Linked DNA regions of Homo sapiens: region 2 is linked to region 1. The links are contacts of gene promoters, found by promoter capture Hi-C in blood cells and fetal thymus (Javierre and others, 2016). All regions are on one chromosome and are shown on one strand. Each heading gives the region's core, a stretch centred on a gene start or on the middle of the fragment in contact. The rest is flanking DNA. Distances are from core to core; before and after follow the strand shown. Region 1 overlaps LRR1 (leucine rich repeat protein 1). Region 2 holds the start of PSMC6 (proteasome 26S subunit, ATPase 6).

Region 1 (5,755 bases), core at 1,123-3,622:
TGACCTTTACTGGTTTACTGAAAACACTGTCTCAGAGATCACTGATCTTTTCACTTGTCTATCACAGTATCATTATTTCTCATTATTTTTGCACTCTGTAGAATTTGACAATGATAATTACCCTTTTCTTAATAAAACTCTTTCTTTTCTTGGTATCTATGATAGGGCACTATGGTTTACCTTCAGTTTTCTTAGTCACTTCTTTGTCTCTTGCTTCCAGCAACATTTTTTTCTATCCCCAAAATAAAGGCTTTATTTCAGTCCTCTGCTGTTTTCTGTCATACCTGCCTTCCATTTGATAGTTCAGCTGTTATATGGGTGAATCCCAAGTCTGTGAACCAGTATGCTTTATTGTACCTAGTTGACCCAGGTCTTCTCCAGACTTTTCCCTACTCTGGTTCATTGTGTACAGTGCTACCAAAATAGTATTTAGTTCTTGTCATGTAACTTTCATACTTAAAATCCCTCCACTTTACGTTGGCATCTGAGCTCATTTACAATCTGTCCTCATACTGTATTTCCAATCTTTTGCTCTACATAGCTTCCATGTTCCAACAAAAATTAGCTTTTTTTTTTTTCTTTTTTTTTTTTTTATATGGAGTCGCTCTGTCGCCCAGGCTGCCGTGCAGTCTTGCGATCTTGGCTTACTGCAACCTCTGCCTCCCAGTTTCAAGCAACTCTCCTGCCTCAGCCTACCAAGCAGCTGGGATTACAGGCGCCTGCCGCCATGCCCCACTAATTTTTATATTTTTAGTAGAGACGGGGTTTCACCATGTTGGCCAAGCTGGCCTTGAACTCCTAACCTCAGGTGATCCACCCACCTTGGCCTCCCAAAGTGCTAGGATTATAGGCGTGAGCCACCAGTCCCAGCCTTTTTTGTTTGTTTGTTTTGTTTTGTTTTGAGACCGAGTTTCACTTGTGTCGCCCAGGCTGGAGTGCAGTGGCGCGATCTCGGCTCACTGCAACCTCTGCCTCCCAGGTTCAAGCAATTCTCCTGCCTCAGCTTCCTGACTAGCTGGGATTACAGGCATGCGCCACATTGCCCAGCTAATTTTTGTATTATTAGTAGAGAAGGGGTTTCACCATGTTGGCCAGGCTGGTCTGAAACTCCTGACCTCAAGTAATCCGCCTGCCTTGGCCTCCCAATGTTATGGGATTATAGGCGTGAGTCACTACACCTGGCCTTAAACTCAAATTTTTTTTTTTTTTTTTTAATTTTTCAGATAGAGTCTTGCTCTGTTGCCCAGCCTGGAGTGCAGTGGCACAATCTCGGCTCACTGCAACCTCCGCCTCCCGGGTTCAAGCGATTCTCCTTGCTCAGCCTCCAAAGTAGCTGGGATTACAGGCATGCACTACCACGCCCAGCTAATTTTTGTATTTTTAGTAGAAACAGGGCTTCACCATGTTGGCCAGGCTGGTCTCAAACTCCTGACCTCAAGTGATCCACCTGCCTCGGCCTCCCAAAGTGCTGGGATTACAGGCGTGAGCCACTGCGCCCCACCTAAACTCAAATCTTAAGTGGAATAGTCAATCATTTCCTATCTTATTTTATACTCTTATGATTTCCCTTTATTTTTGTTATTTTTTTTTTTTTTTGAGACAGTCTCACTCTGTTGCCCAGGCTGGAGGGCAGTGATATCATGGCTTACTGCAGCCTCTACTTCCTAGGCTCAGGTGATCCTCCCACCTCAGCCTCCCAAAGTGTTGGCATGACTTCCCTTTGAACAGTTTTATTTAGAATGTGTCCCTCCACGTAATTTTTTTCAAAAACTTTTAAACTTGAAATTTAGTCAAAATAAAGTACTAAAAAAAAGTTTTACAGTCAATTTCAGTAAATCATTGTATCACATTCATAAGTAATGCCATAGAATTTGTTATGGGAAGAACTAGCATGTATGTATTATCTCCAGTGGAATTTATAATTCTACAACTTTTATTTATTCAGGCCATTTCCAGCAGTTTAAAAGGTTTCCTTTCAGCTATGAGACTGGCTCATAGAGGCTGTAATGTTGATACACCAGTTTCAACGCTCACACCAGTGAAGACTTCAGAATTTGAAAACTTTAAAACTAAAATGGTTATCACATCCAAAAAAGACTATCCTCTAAGTAAGAATTTTCCATATTCCTTGGAACATCTTCAGACTTCTTACTGTGGGCTTGTCCGAGTTGATATGCGTATGCTTTGCTTAAAAAGCCTTAGGAAATTAGACTTGAGTCACAACCATATAAAAAAGCTTCCAGCTACAATTGGAGACCTCATACACCTTCAAGAACTTAACCTGAATGACAATCACTTGGAGTCATTTAGTGTAGCCTTGTGTCATTCTACACTCCAGAAGTCACTTCGGAGTTTGGACCTCAGCAAGAACAAAATCAAGGCACTCCCTGTGCAGTTTTGCCAGCTCCAGGAACTTAAGAATTTAAAACTTGACGATAATGAATTGATTCAATTTCCTTGCAAGATAGGACAACTAATAAACCTTCGCTTTTTGTCAGCAGCTCGAAATAAGCTTCCATTTTTGCCTAGTGAATTTAGAAATTTATCCCTTGAATACTTGGATCTTTTTGGAAATACTTTTGAACAACCAAAAGTCCTTCCAGTAATAAAGCTGCAAGCACCATTAACTTTATTGGAATCTTCTGCACGAACCATATTACATAATAGGTAAGATTTTAATAGTCATGTAATGTGGTGTCTTTGATAGCATTCTAATATTCCTATCAAACTCAGAGTAATAAAGTCTAACATTGCTTACAGTGCTATGCACAGTCTGACCCTTTGCTATAATGGTCTTCTTGTTCCTTACCTCTGCTTAGAATGATTTTTCTCCAGGAAGTCTCATTGCTCACTCCCTCACTTCATTCAGTTTTCTGCCGAAGTGTCATCCCAGAAAGGTCTTACCTGTCCATTCTATCTAAATTTTATTCCTTCCCTCCTTACATTGCTTGATTTTTTTTTTTTTTTTTTTTTTTTTTTTTTTTTTTTTTTTTGGTCATAGGACTCATTGCCTGTTATATATATTTTTAAACTTTTTTTTTTGTTTACTGTCAGTTTTCCCCACTAGAATGTAAGATCCATCAGCACATGGATGTTGTTTTATTCTCCACTATTTCCCTAGGATCTAAACCATGTATACCCTGCTCCTAGCATATATTAAGCACTCAATAAGTAGTTAAATGAATGAATGGCATTGTTTCTCAAAGTGTGCTCCCCTGACCAGCAGGATCTGCATTACCTAGGAACTTCCTAGAGATGCAGGTTCTAACATTCCAGACCTACTGAATCAGAAACTGAGAGTGGGGTCCAGCTGTGTCTTAGTGAGTCTTCCAAGTGATTTTGATGTACTCTAAAATTAGAGAGTTCGCATAGTGATGAAGGGTGGTCTTTGGAGTCAGACTTGGATTTGATTCCTGGCTTCACCACTTTGTATGACTTTAACCTCTTTTTTTTTTTTTTTTTTTTTTTTTTTGAGATGGAGTCTCACTCTGTCGCCCAGGCTGGAGTGCAGTGGTGCGAAGCGATCTCGGCTCACTGCAAGCTCCGCCTTCCAGGTTCACGCCATTCTCGTGCCTCAGCCTACTGAGTAGCTGGGACTACAGGCGCCCGCCAACACGCCTGGCTAATTTTTTTTTTGTATTTTTAGTAGAGACGGGGTTTCACCGTGTTAGCCAGGATGGTCTCGATCTCCTGACCTCGTGATCCGCCCGTCTTGGCCTCCCAAAGTGCTGGAATTACAGGCTTGAGCCACCACACCTGGCCCTTTTTTTTTTTTTTTTTTTTTTTTTTGAGACAGGGTCTCACTCTGTTGCCCAGGCTCGAGTGCAGTGGTCCAATCTCAGCTCACTGCAACTTCTGCCTCCCAGACTCAAGCAACTCTTCTGCCTCAGCCTCCTGAGTAGCTGGGATTACAGGCGCCCACCGCCATGCCTGGCTCATTTTTGTATTTTCATTTTATTTATTTGTTTGAGACAGAGTCTCACTGTGTCACCCAGGCTGGAGTGCAGTGGCGCCATCTCGGCTCACTGCAACCTCTGCTTCCCGAGTTCGAGCGATTCTCCTGCTTCAGCCTCCTAAGTAGCTGAAACTGCAGGCACCCGCCACCACACCTGGCTAATTTTTTTTTGTATTTTTAGTAGAGACGGAGTTTTACTATGTTGTCCAGGCTGGTCTTGAACTCCTGACCTTGTGATCTGCCCACTTTGGCCTCCCAAAGTGCCGGGATTACAGGTGTGAGCCACCGCGCCTGGCCTTATTTTTTTAATTTTTGAGATGGAGTCTTGTTCTGTCGCCCAGGTTGGAGTGCAGTGGCATGATCTCGGCTCAACTATAACCTCTGCCTCCCGAGTTCCAGGAGTTCTCCTGCCTCAGCCTTCCGAGTAGCTGGGATTACAAGCATGTGCCACCACACACAGCTAATTTTTGTATTTTTAGCAGAGATGGGGTTTCACCATGTTGACCAGGCTGGTCTCCCAACTCCTGACCTCAGGTGATCTGCCTGTCTTGGTCTCTCAAAATGCTGGAATTACAGGTGTGAGCCTCTCAAAGTGCTGGGATTACAGGCGTGAGCCACCACACCTGACCTATTTAACCTCTTTGATTTCATTTTCTCAGCTGTGAAACAGGAAGAATAATACCCACCTTATAGAGTTGTGACGATAAATGAGCTAATGTAATGCCAAAGCATTTGGCATATAGTAGGATTCAGTAGCTGTTGGTTCTCTTCTCCTTGTCTGAACACTAACTGCATTTGGTTTCATGGACCCTGAGCACCAGATTCATTTTGTTGAGGGTTTTTTTTTTTTTTTGAGATGGAGTTTTGCTCTTGTTGCCCAGGCTGGAGTGCAGTGCGCAAGCGGCTGGAGTGCAGTGCGCAAGCTGGAGTGCCTCCTGGGTTCAAGTGATTCTCCTGCCTCAGCCTCCCAAGTAGCTGGGATTACAGGCTCCCGCCACCACGGCTGGCTATTTTTTTGTATTTTTAGTAGAGATGGGGTTTCACCACGTTGGCCAGGCTGGTTTTGAACTCCTGGCCTCAAGCAATCCACCTGGCTTGGCCTCCCAAAGTGCTAGGATTACAGGCATGAGCCACCACTCCCAGCCATTGTTCAGGTTGCTTTTTATTTTTTGAGACAGTCTCTTTCACTCTTGCCCGGGCTGGAGTGGAATGGCGTGATCTCAGCTCACTGCAACCTCTGCCTCCCAGGTTCAAGCAGTTCTCCTGCCTCAGCCTCCCAAGTAGCTGGGATTACAGGTGCCCATGACCATGGCCGGCTAAATTTTTGTATTTTTAGTAGAGACAGGGTTTCACTATGTTGACCAGGCTGGTCTCAAACTCCTAACCTTGTGATCCACCTGCCTCAGCCTCCCAAAGTGCTGAGATTACAGACATGAGCCACCACACCCAGCCTGTTCAGGCTTCTTGAACGCATGTCTGGAAGCTAAGATGTGGACCAAAGTATTACTGAGAACCTATAAAATGGTAGAAAGATCATATTTCAAATAAGAAATTCTGAACTTTTTTAGGGGAGAGGGGCTCTTAAAACTGACCAAAGTTAAGGAACTGGAAAACTGTACACATGAGTACACAGAATTTTGCATAAAAGGAACCTGGCTCCCACTGAAACCCAGTCCAGTCCTCTCTCCTTGCCATCCCCAATGTAAGAACTCTTACTCTAAACCAATGGTTCTCAGACGTTACTTCAAATTTAGAATAACCTGAGAAACATTTAAAACATCTGAAGGCCAGGTGCGGTGG
Region 2 (5,477 bases), core at 2,583-5,082, 3.1 Mb after region 1:
TCAGTCTCTCATGGTGTTGCAATCAATACTAGGGCTGCAGTAATAAAGGCTTGCCTAGAGCCGGAGGATCTCTGCCAGGAACTGCTCACTCATATGGCTGTTGGCAGGAGGCCTTAAGTTCCTGGATGGCTGTTCCTTGCTATGTAGGTCTCTCCATAGATCTGTTGATGTGTCCTCATGCCATGACAACTGGCTCTCCCACAGGGAGTTATCCAAGCGAGAGTCAAAAGGAAGGCTCAACACTTTTTGTGATCTAGTCTCCATCGTTGCGCACTGTCACTTCCACTTTATTTATCAAGAGCAAGTCACTAGGTCCAAGGAAGGGGAATTATGCTCCACCTCTTGAAGTGGAAAGTGTCAAATAATTTGTGTACATATTTTAAAATGACCACACTCATCTGTGCCAAGTTATAGGAAAATAGATTGAGAAACTATCCTTACATGATTTTTGAAGGTCTACATCAATCTCATTACCGTTTGTTATGACATCACTTTTAATGACTCCGAAATAAACTAAGATATGCCCTACCTTCTTTTATCTCTTCCACCCTATATGTTCTAATTTTCATTTTTTGGTCACATTTGTATTTTTCTGTTTTCACTTTATGATATTTTAAGTTCCTTGAGTACTGGTCACATTTCTTAGCCTCTTTATAACTCTGCTTACCTATCTTAGTGCCTGAGATATTCATTCATTCAATATACATATATCTCTTTTATTTCAGACACTGTGCTAGACACTGGGGATCCAATCAGGGGAAATAAATAGTCATAGTCCTTGTTTTCCGAGGGGTTACAGTCCACTGCAGAGAAAAGACTCTAAACATTTAATCACGTTTAAGAATATATAATTACAAGTTGAGCTACGTTTTCAGATGGAGAGGAATACAGTCTTATAGGCATGTATAAAAACGTAACGGCCAGGCGCGGTGGCTCACACCTGTAATCCCAGCACTTTGGGAGGCTAAGGCGGGTGGATCACCTGAGCTCAGGAATTTAAGACCAGCCTGACCAACATGGTGAAACCCCATCTCTACCAAAAATACAAAAATTAGTCGGGTGTGGTGGCGCATACCTGTAGTCCCAGCTACTCTGGAAGCTGAAGCAGGAGAATCCCTTGATCCCGGGAGGCGGAGGTTGCAGCAAGCCGAGATCGCACCACTGCACTCCAGCCTGGGCGACAGAGCGAGACTCCTGCTCAAAACAAAAAACAAACAAACAAACAAAAAAGTAACAGGGCTAGTGTAGGCATGGGGAAAATAGAAGATTCTTCTGAAGTTGAAATGCTGCCAGATGGGTAAAAGAAAAAGAACAAGGGTTAAGGGACTTTAAAATATTGATGTGATTAATGTTAAAATAACCTATCAGTATGTGCTCATAAATATTTTAAATTGAGCCATACTGAGCTTTCTTTCTCTGCCTTGTCCTCTCTTCTTTACTTCTTGATGTCAGAGGTGACATGTTTTGGTATGGATGGACTAGTTTGACCAGAGTAGTTGCAACTGAGTGGGAGAAGGGACTATCCCTGCCCCATACAGCTTCCTTGTTCATTGTATACTGCAAGAACCCAGTCACATTTAGAAAAATTGGCCGAACGCGGTGGCTCATGCCTGTAATCCCAGCACTTTGGGAGGCCGAGGCGGGCGGATCACGAGGTCAGGAGATCGAGACCAGCCTGACCAACATGGTGAAACCCTGTCTCTACTAAAAATACAAAAATTAGCTGGGCGTGGTGGTGTGCGCCTGTAATCCCAGCTGTTCGGGAGGCTGAGGCAGGAGAATCACTTGAACCCGGGAGGTGGAGGTTGCAGTGAGCCGAGATCGCGCCACTGCACTCCAGCCTGGCGACAGAGCAAGACTCCAACTCAAAAAAAAAAAAAAAAAAAAAAAAAAAAAAGAAAAATAGAATGGAATATTCACACAATACCCATGAGAATTGTTCCTAATAAATTTGAAGGCATCCTTTATGTGACTTTGGGTCATTAATTTACAAAAATTTGTACTTTATTTGTATATTTAGGATGTATATATTTAAACTCAAACATTCATGGCCATTGGATAAGGTGAGACCAAATGGAATCTATTTGGAGAATTTTACTCATGTTTTTTGGACAACAATTAATTGTCCCCAGGAACAATGATAGCAAGAGGTATAGCAATGAGGACCTGTAATGCAAAAATTGGAGTCATTACTACCCTTAAAATAAATATCTATTCAAAAGAACACTATTGAGTACATGCCATGTGGCAGATGTTGTGTTTAGGCACATTATCCTATTTAATACTCATGACAACCCCATTAGATAAGTGCAATTATTATGATCATTTTACAGAGATATTGAGGGAGTATGTAATTTTCCCCAAATCACAAAAATCTGAAAGTTGGCCAGGCGTCGTGGCTCACGCCTGTAATCCCAACACTTTGGGAGGCTGAGGCGGGCGGATCACTTGAGGTCAGTAGTTGGAGACCAGCCTGGCCAACATGGTGAAACCCCATTCCTACTGAAAATACAAAAATGAGCCGGGCGTGGTGGCGGGCGCCTGTAATCCCAGCTTCTCAGGAGGGTGAGGCACGACAATCGCTTGAACCCGGGAGGCAGAGGTTGCAGTGAGCCAAGATCGCACCACTACACTGCAGCCTGGGTGACAGAGTGAGACACAGACTCAAAAAAAAAAAAAAAAAAAAAAAAATCTGGCCGGGCGCAGTGCCTCACACCTGTAATCCTAGCACTTTGGGAGGCTGAGGAGGGTGGATCACCTGAAGTCAGCAGTTCGAGACCAGCATGGCCAACATGGCGAAACCCCGTCTCTACTAAAAATACAAAAATTAGCCGGTTGTGGTGGCGCACACCTGTAATGCCAGCTACTCCGGAGGCTGAGGAAGGAGAATTGCTTGAACCCGGGAGGTGGAGGTTGCAGTGAGCTGAGATCGCGTCACCGCTCCAGCCTGTGCGGCAGGAGCAAGACTCCATCTCAAAAGTAAATAAATAAATACATAAATCTGAAGGTTCTATCAGACTTCAAAGTTCCTGCCTCAGCCTACTTCAGCATCTTTATCTTGTACCCCACATCTCTACAACCCACCCCCTACTGGTCTCATTGGCCTCCTTTCTGTTCCTGGAAGTGAGTCAAGCTTTCTACCCACAACCCCCACCCCACTCCACTCCAGGACTTGCACTGTTTGTTTAGGTTTTCTTCAGTTGTTGCAAGGCTGGCTCCTTCTCATCTCAGATATCTGTTCTAGATTAATTCTTCCCACCATACTTCTCACCGTGTTTTAATTCCTTCACAGTATTTGTTAAACTCTGAAGTTTTTTTTATTATTATTTCCTATCAAATGATAAGCAGATCTACCTTTAATACCTCATTCACTGACTGAATGGATGAATAAAACTGTCTACTTCTCCAGCACGTGGAGGTCTTGGACAGTACTGTGTTATAACAAAGGCCATCTGTGTTGTGTCGACAGGCCATCGGAACTCCTTTGAGGTATTACACATTTCCTACTTCACTTCCATCTCAGTTTATTACAGAGCCTTTTATACTTCCGGGACAGCAGTGACTTAATACTGAGGCCTCTCAGGGGAAGACCGGGATAACTGAGTCCTGCTTTACCTATCTCGGCTTGCAAGAAACGGTATAGGTGGAGGCCTCTTTCAGTGTATGCCGGCGCTCTAGGTGAACCGAGACATAGAGGTGGAAGTGGAGTAGAAAGACGGGGCCAACCGGAAGGGGAGGGCTCATGGGCGAACCCACCCCTCCAGGCAGGGTTTCGCCCCTCGCCCCGCCCCTTCCCCCGCCCGGACGGCCATGGCCATTCCCGGCATCCCCTATGAGAGACGGCTTCTCATCATGGCGGACCCTAGAGATAAGGCGCTTCAGGACTACCGCAAGAAGTTGCTTGAACACAAGGAGATCGACGGCCGTCTTAAGGAGTGTGAGTGCACCTTTCTTTCCATTTAATCAAGTGCCTCGACTCGCTTCTGCCTCTGACAAAGCAGAAGCCTTTCGCCGAGCCCGGCAACCGAGCCTTAGAGATGACCAGGCCTAGGGCCAGGGACAAGGCGCTTTGTCATCCGGCCCTGAGCTTGTGGAGCAGCACTCCTTCGGGTGTAGAAATGGCCCAGTCCAGCCCGGGTGACAGAACATCGGCGGCCTTGAGGTGAAAATGAAAAAGAAGTAGAGGAGGAGTGGGGAAGTGGGCCGAGGATGTTTCCCAGGTTAGGGTGCAAGAAGGGCAGTCTTGGTGGAGTCCCGGGACTTGGAGAGGGGAAGGCGCTTGAGTCAAGTAAGCTCAAACAAGAGATGAGACTCAGGGAGTCGGCTTGTTCTTGGAGTCGAAAGACGGCCGCGGAGCTTAAGAGAGAAGTGTTCCAGTTGTCATAATAACCCATATCGTCTTGTGTTTCGTGTTGTACTGTATCAGGCATACAAATTTCCCTTACCTCCTGAGTGCTTAACTTTTTTTTCCAGTGCATTTTCATTGAAAAGCATGAGTAGTTTAATTAAATGGAGGACCATAATTACATGATTCTGTGGAGAACTGCATTTGTTGACTTTATTTAGGGTAGAATGTCAGAGAACAATCCACGTGGGTAGGTGAAGAGGTGAGGAAGGGTCTAAGTGATTATCATTCGGATTTGTAGTCGCAAATCCTAAGTGTCAGGGTGTCAATATCTTCTAAGACTATAACTTAAGATGTGCTTAAACAAGTATTGCCGATCAACAAAGTAAAAGTATGGTGCTTTCTCTGTAACATTTTGTTGTTATACATGCCACCTACTCATTACAAACAGCATTATTTCTTTTATGGTTTGAAACAGTGGATGTGAAACTTAGGTAAAGTGAAGTAGACTTACGTAAACAGTAAAGTGAGACGTAGCGACTTAAACACACTAAGATTACTGTTCAATTAAAAATGTTCAAATTGTATTATTTCAGTAAGGGAACAATTAAAAGAACTTACCAAGCAGTATGAAAAGTCTGAAAATGATCTGAAGGCCCTACAGAGTGTTGGGCAGGTAGGTGATGGAGTTTGGGGAATAGGGGGTGATGGTAATTTGCTTTTTTATTTAGCTGTTGCCAAAAAGTAATGCTTTTTATTTTCTTCCTTAGATCGTGGGTGAAGTGCTTAAACAGTTAACTGAAGAAAAATGTGAGTGATGAATTAGCTTATTAATTAGTAAAGAAACAGTCCACCTCTCTCTCACTTTTGAAATGCTTATTATTTTAATGACAATAATGCAGAGAGAGAGAGTATTTTTGAATAGACTTAAGTTTTCCTTCAACTAATGTCTCCTTGGAGGACAGAAATACAACTAAACCCTCTGTCAACGTGGGTATGTATTTTTTTACTTTCTATTTTTCAATTAGTTCTTTTATGTTTTTTCTTCTAGTCATTGTTAAAGCTACCAATGGACCAAGATATGTTGTGGGTTGTCGTCGACAGGTAATACTTTATATTTGTATAGTGCCTG

What was found. The method cuts DNA at HindIII sites, captures the fragments that hold promoters and counts their contacts. A CHiCAGO score of 5 or more calls a contact.
Region 2: a contact is called between the fragment with the promoter of PSMC6 here and a fragment that was not itself captured in region 1, in 1 of 17 cell types (M0 macrophages). The highest score is 6.5, in M0 macrophages.

Annotation. Positions count from the first base shown.
Region 1 is chr14:49,605,455-49,611,209 of GRCh38, forward strand. It overlaps LRR1 (leucine rich repeat protein 1), which reads left to right. Exons shown (of 4, transcript NM_152329.4): 3 at 1,946-2,667. Among named protein-coding and RNA genes, the nearest start is that of LRR1, 9.4 kb to the left of the region's middle. The HindIII fragment of the contact is 276 bases long and covers 2,235-2,510 here.
Region 2 is chr14:52,703,368-52,708,844 of GRCh38, forward strand. It overlaps PSMC6 (proteasome 26S subunit, ATPase 6), which reads left to right and starts at 3,833. Exons shown (of 14, transcript NM_002806.5): 1 at 3,833-3,937; 2 at 4,942-5,021; 3 at 5,116-5,155; 4 at 5,397-5,449. The coding sequence starts at 3,853. RefSeq lists enhancers at 3,384-3,493, 3,514-3,573, 3,874-4,123, 4,144-4,193. The HindIII fragment of the contact is 4,351 bases long and covers 3,132-5,477 here.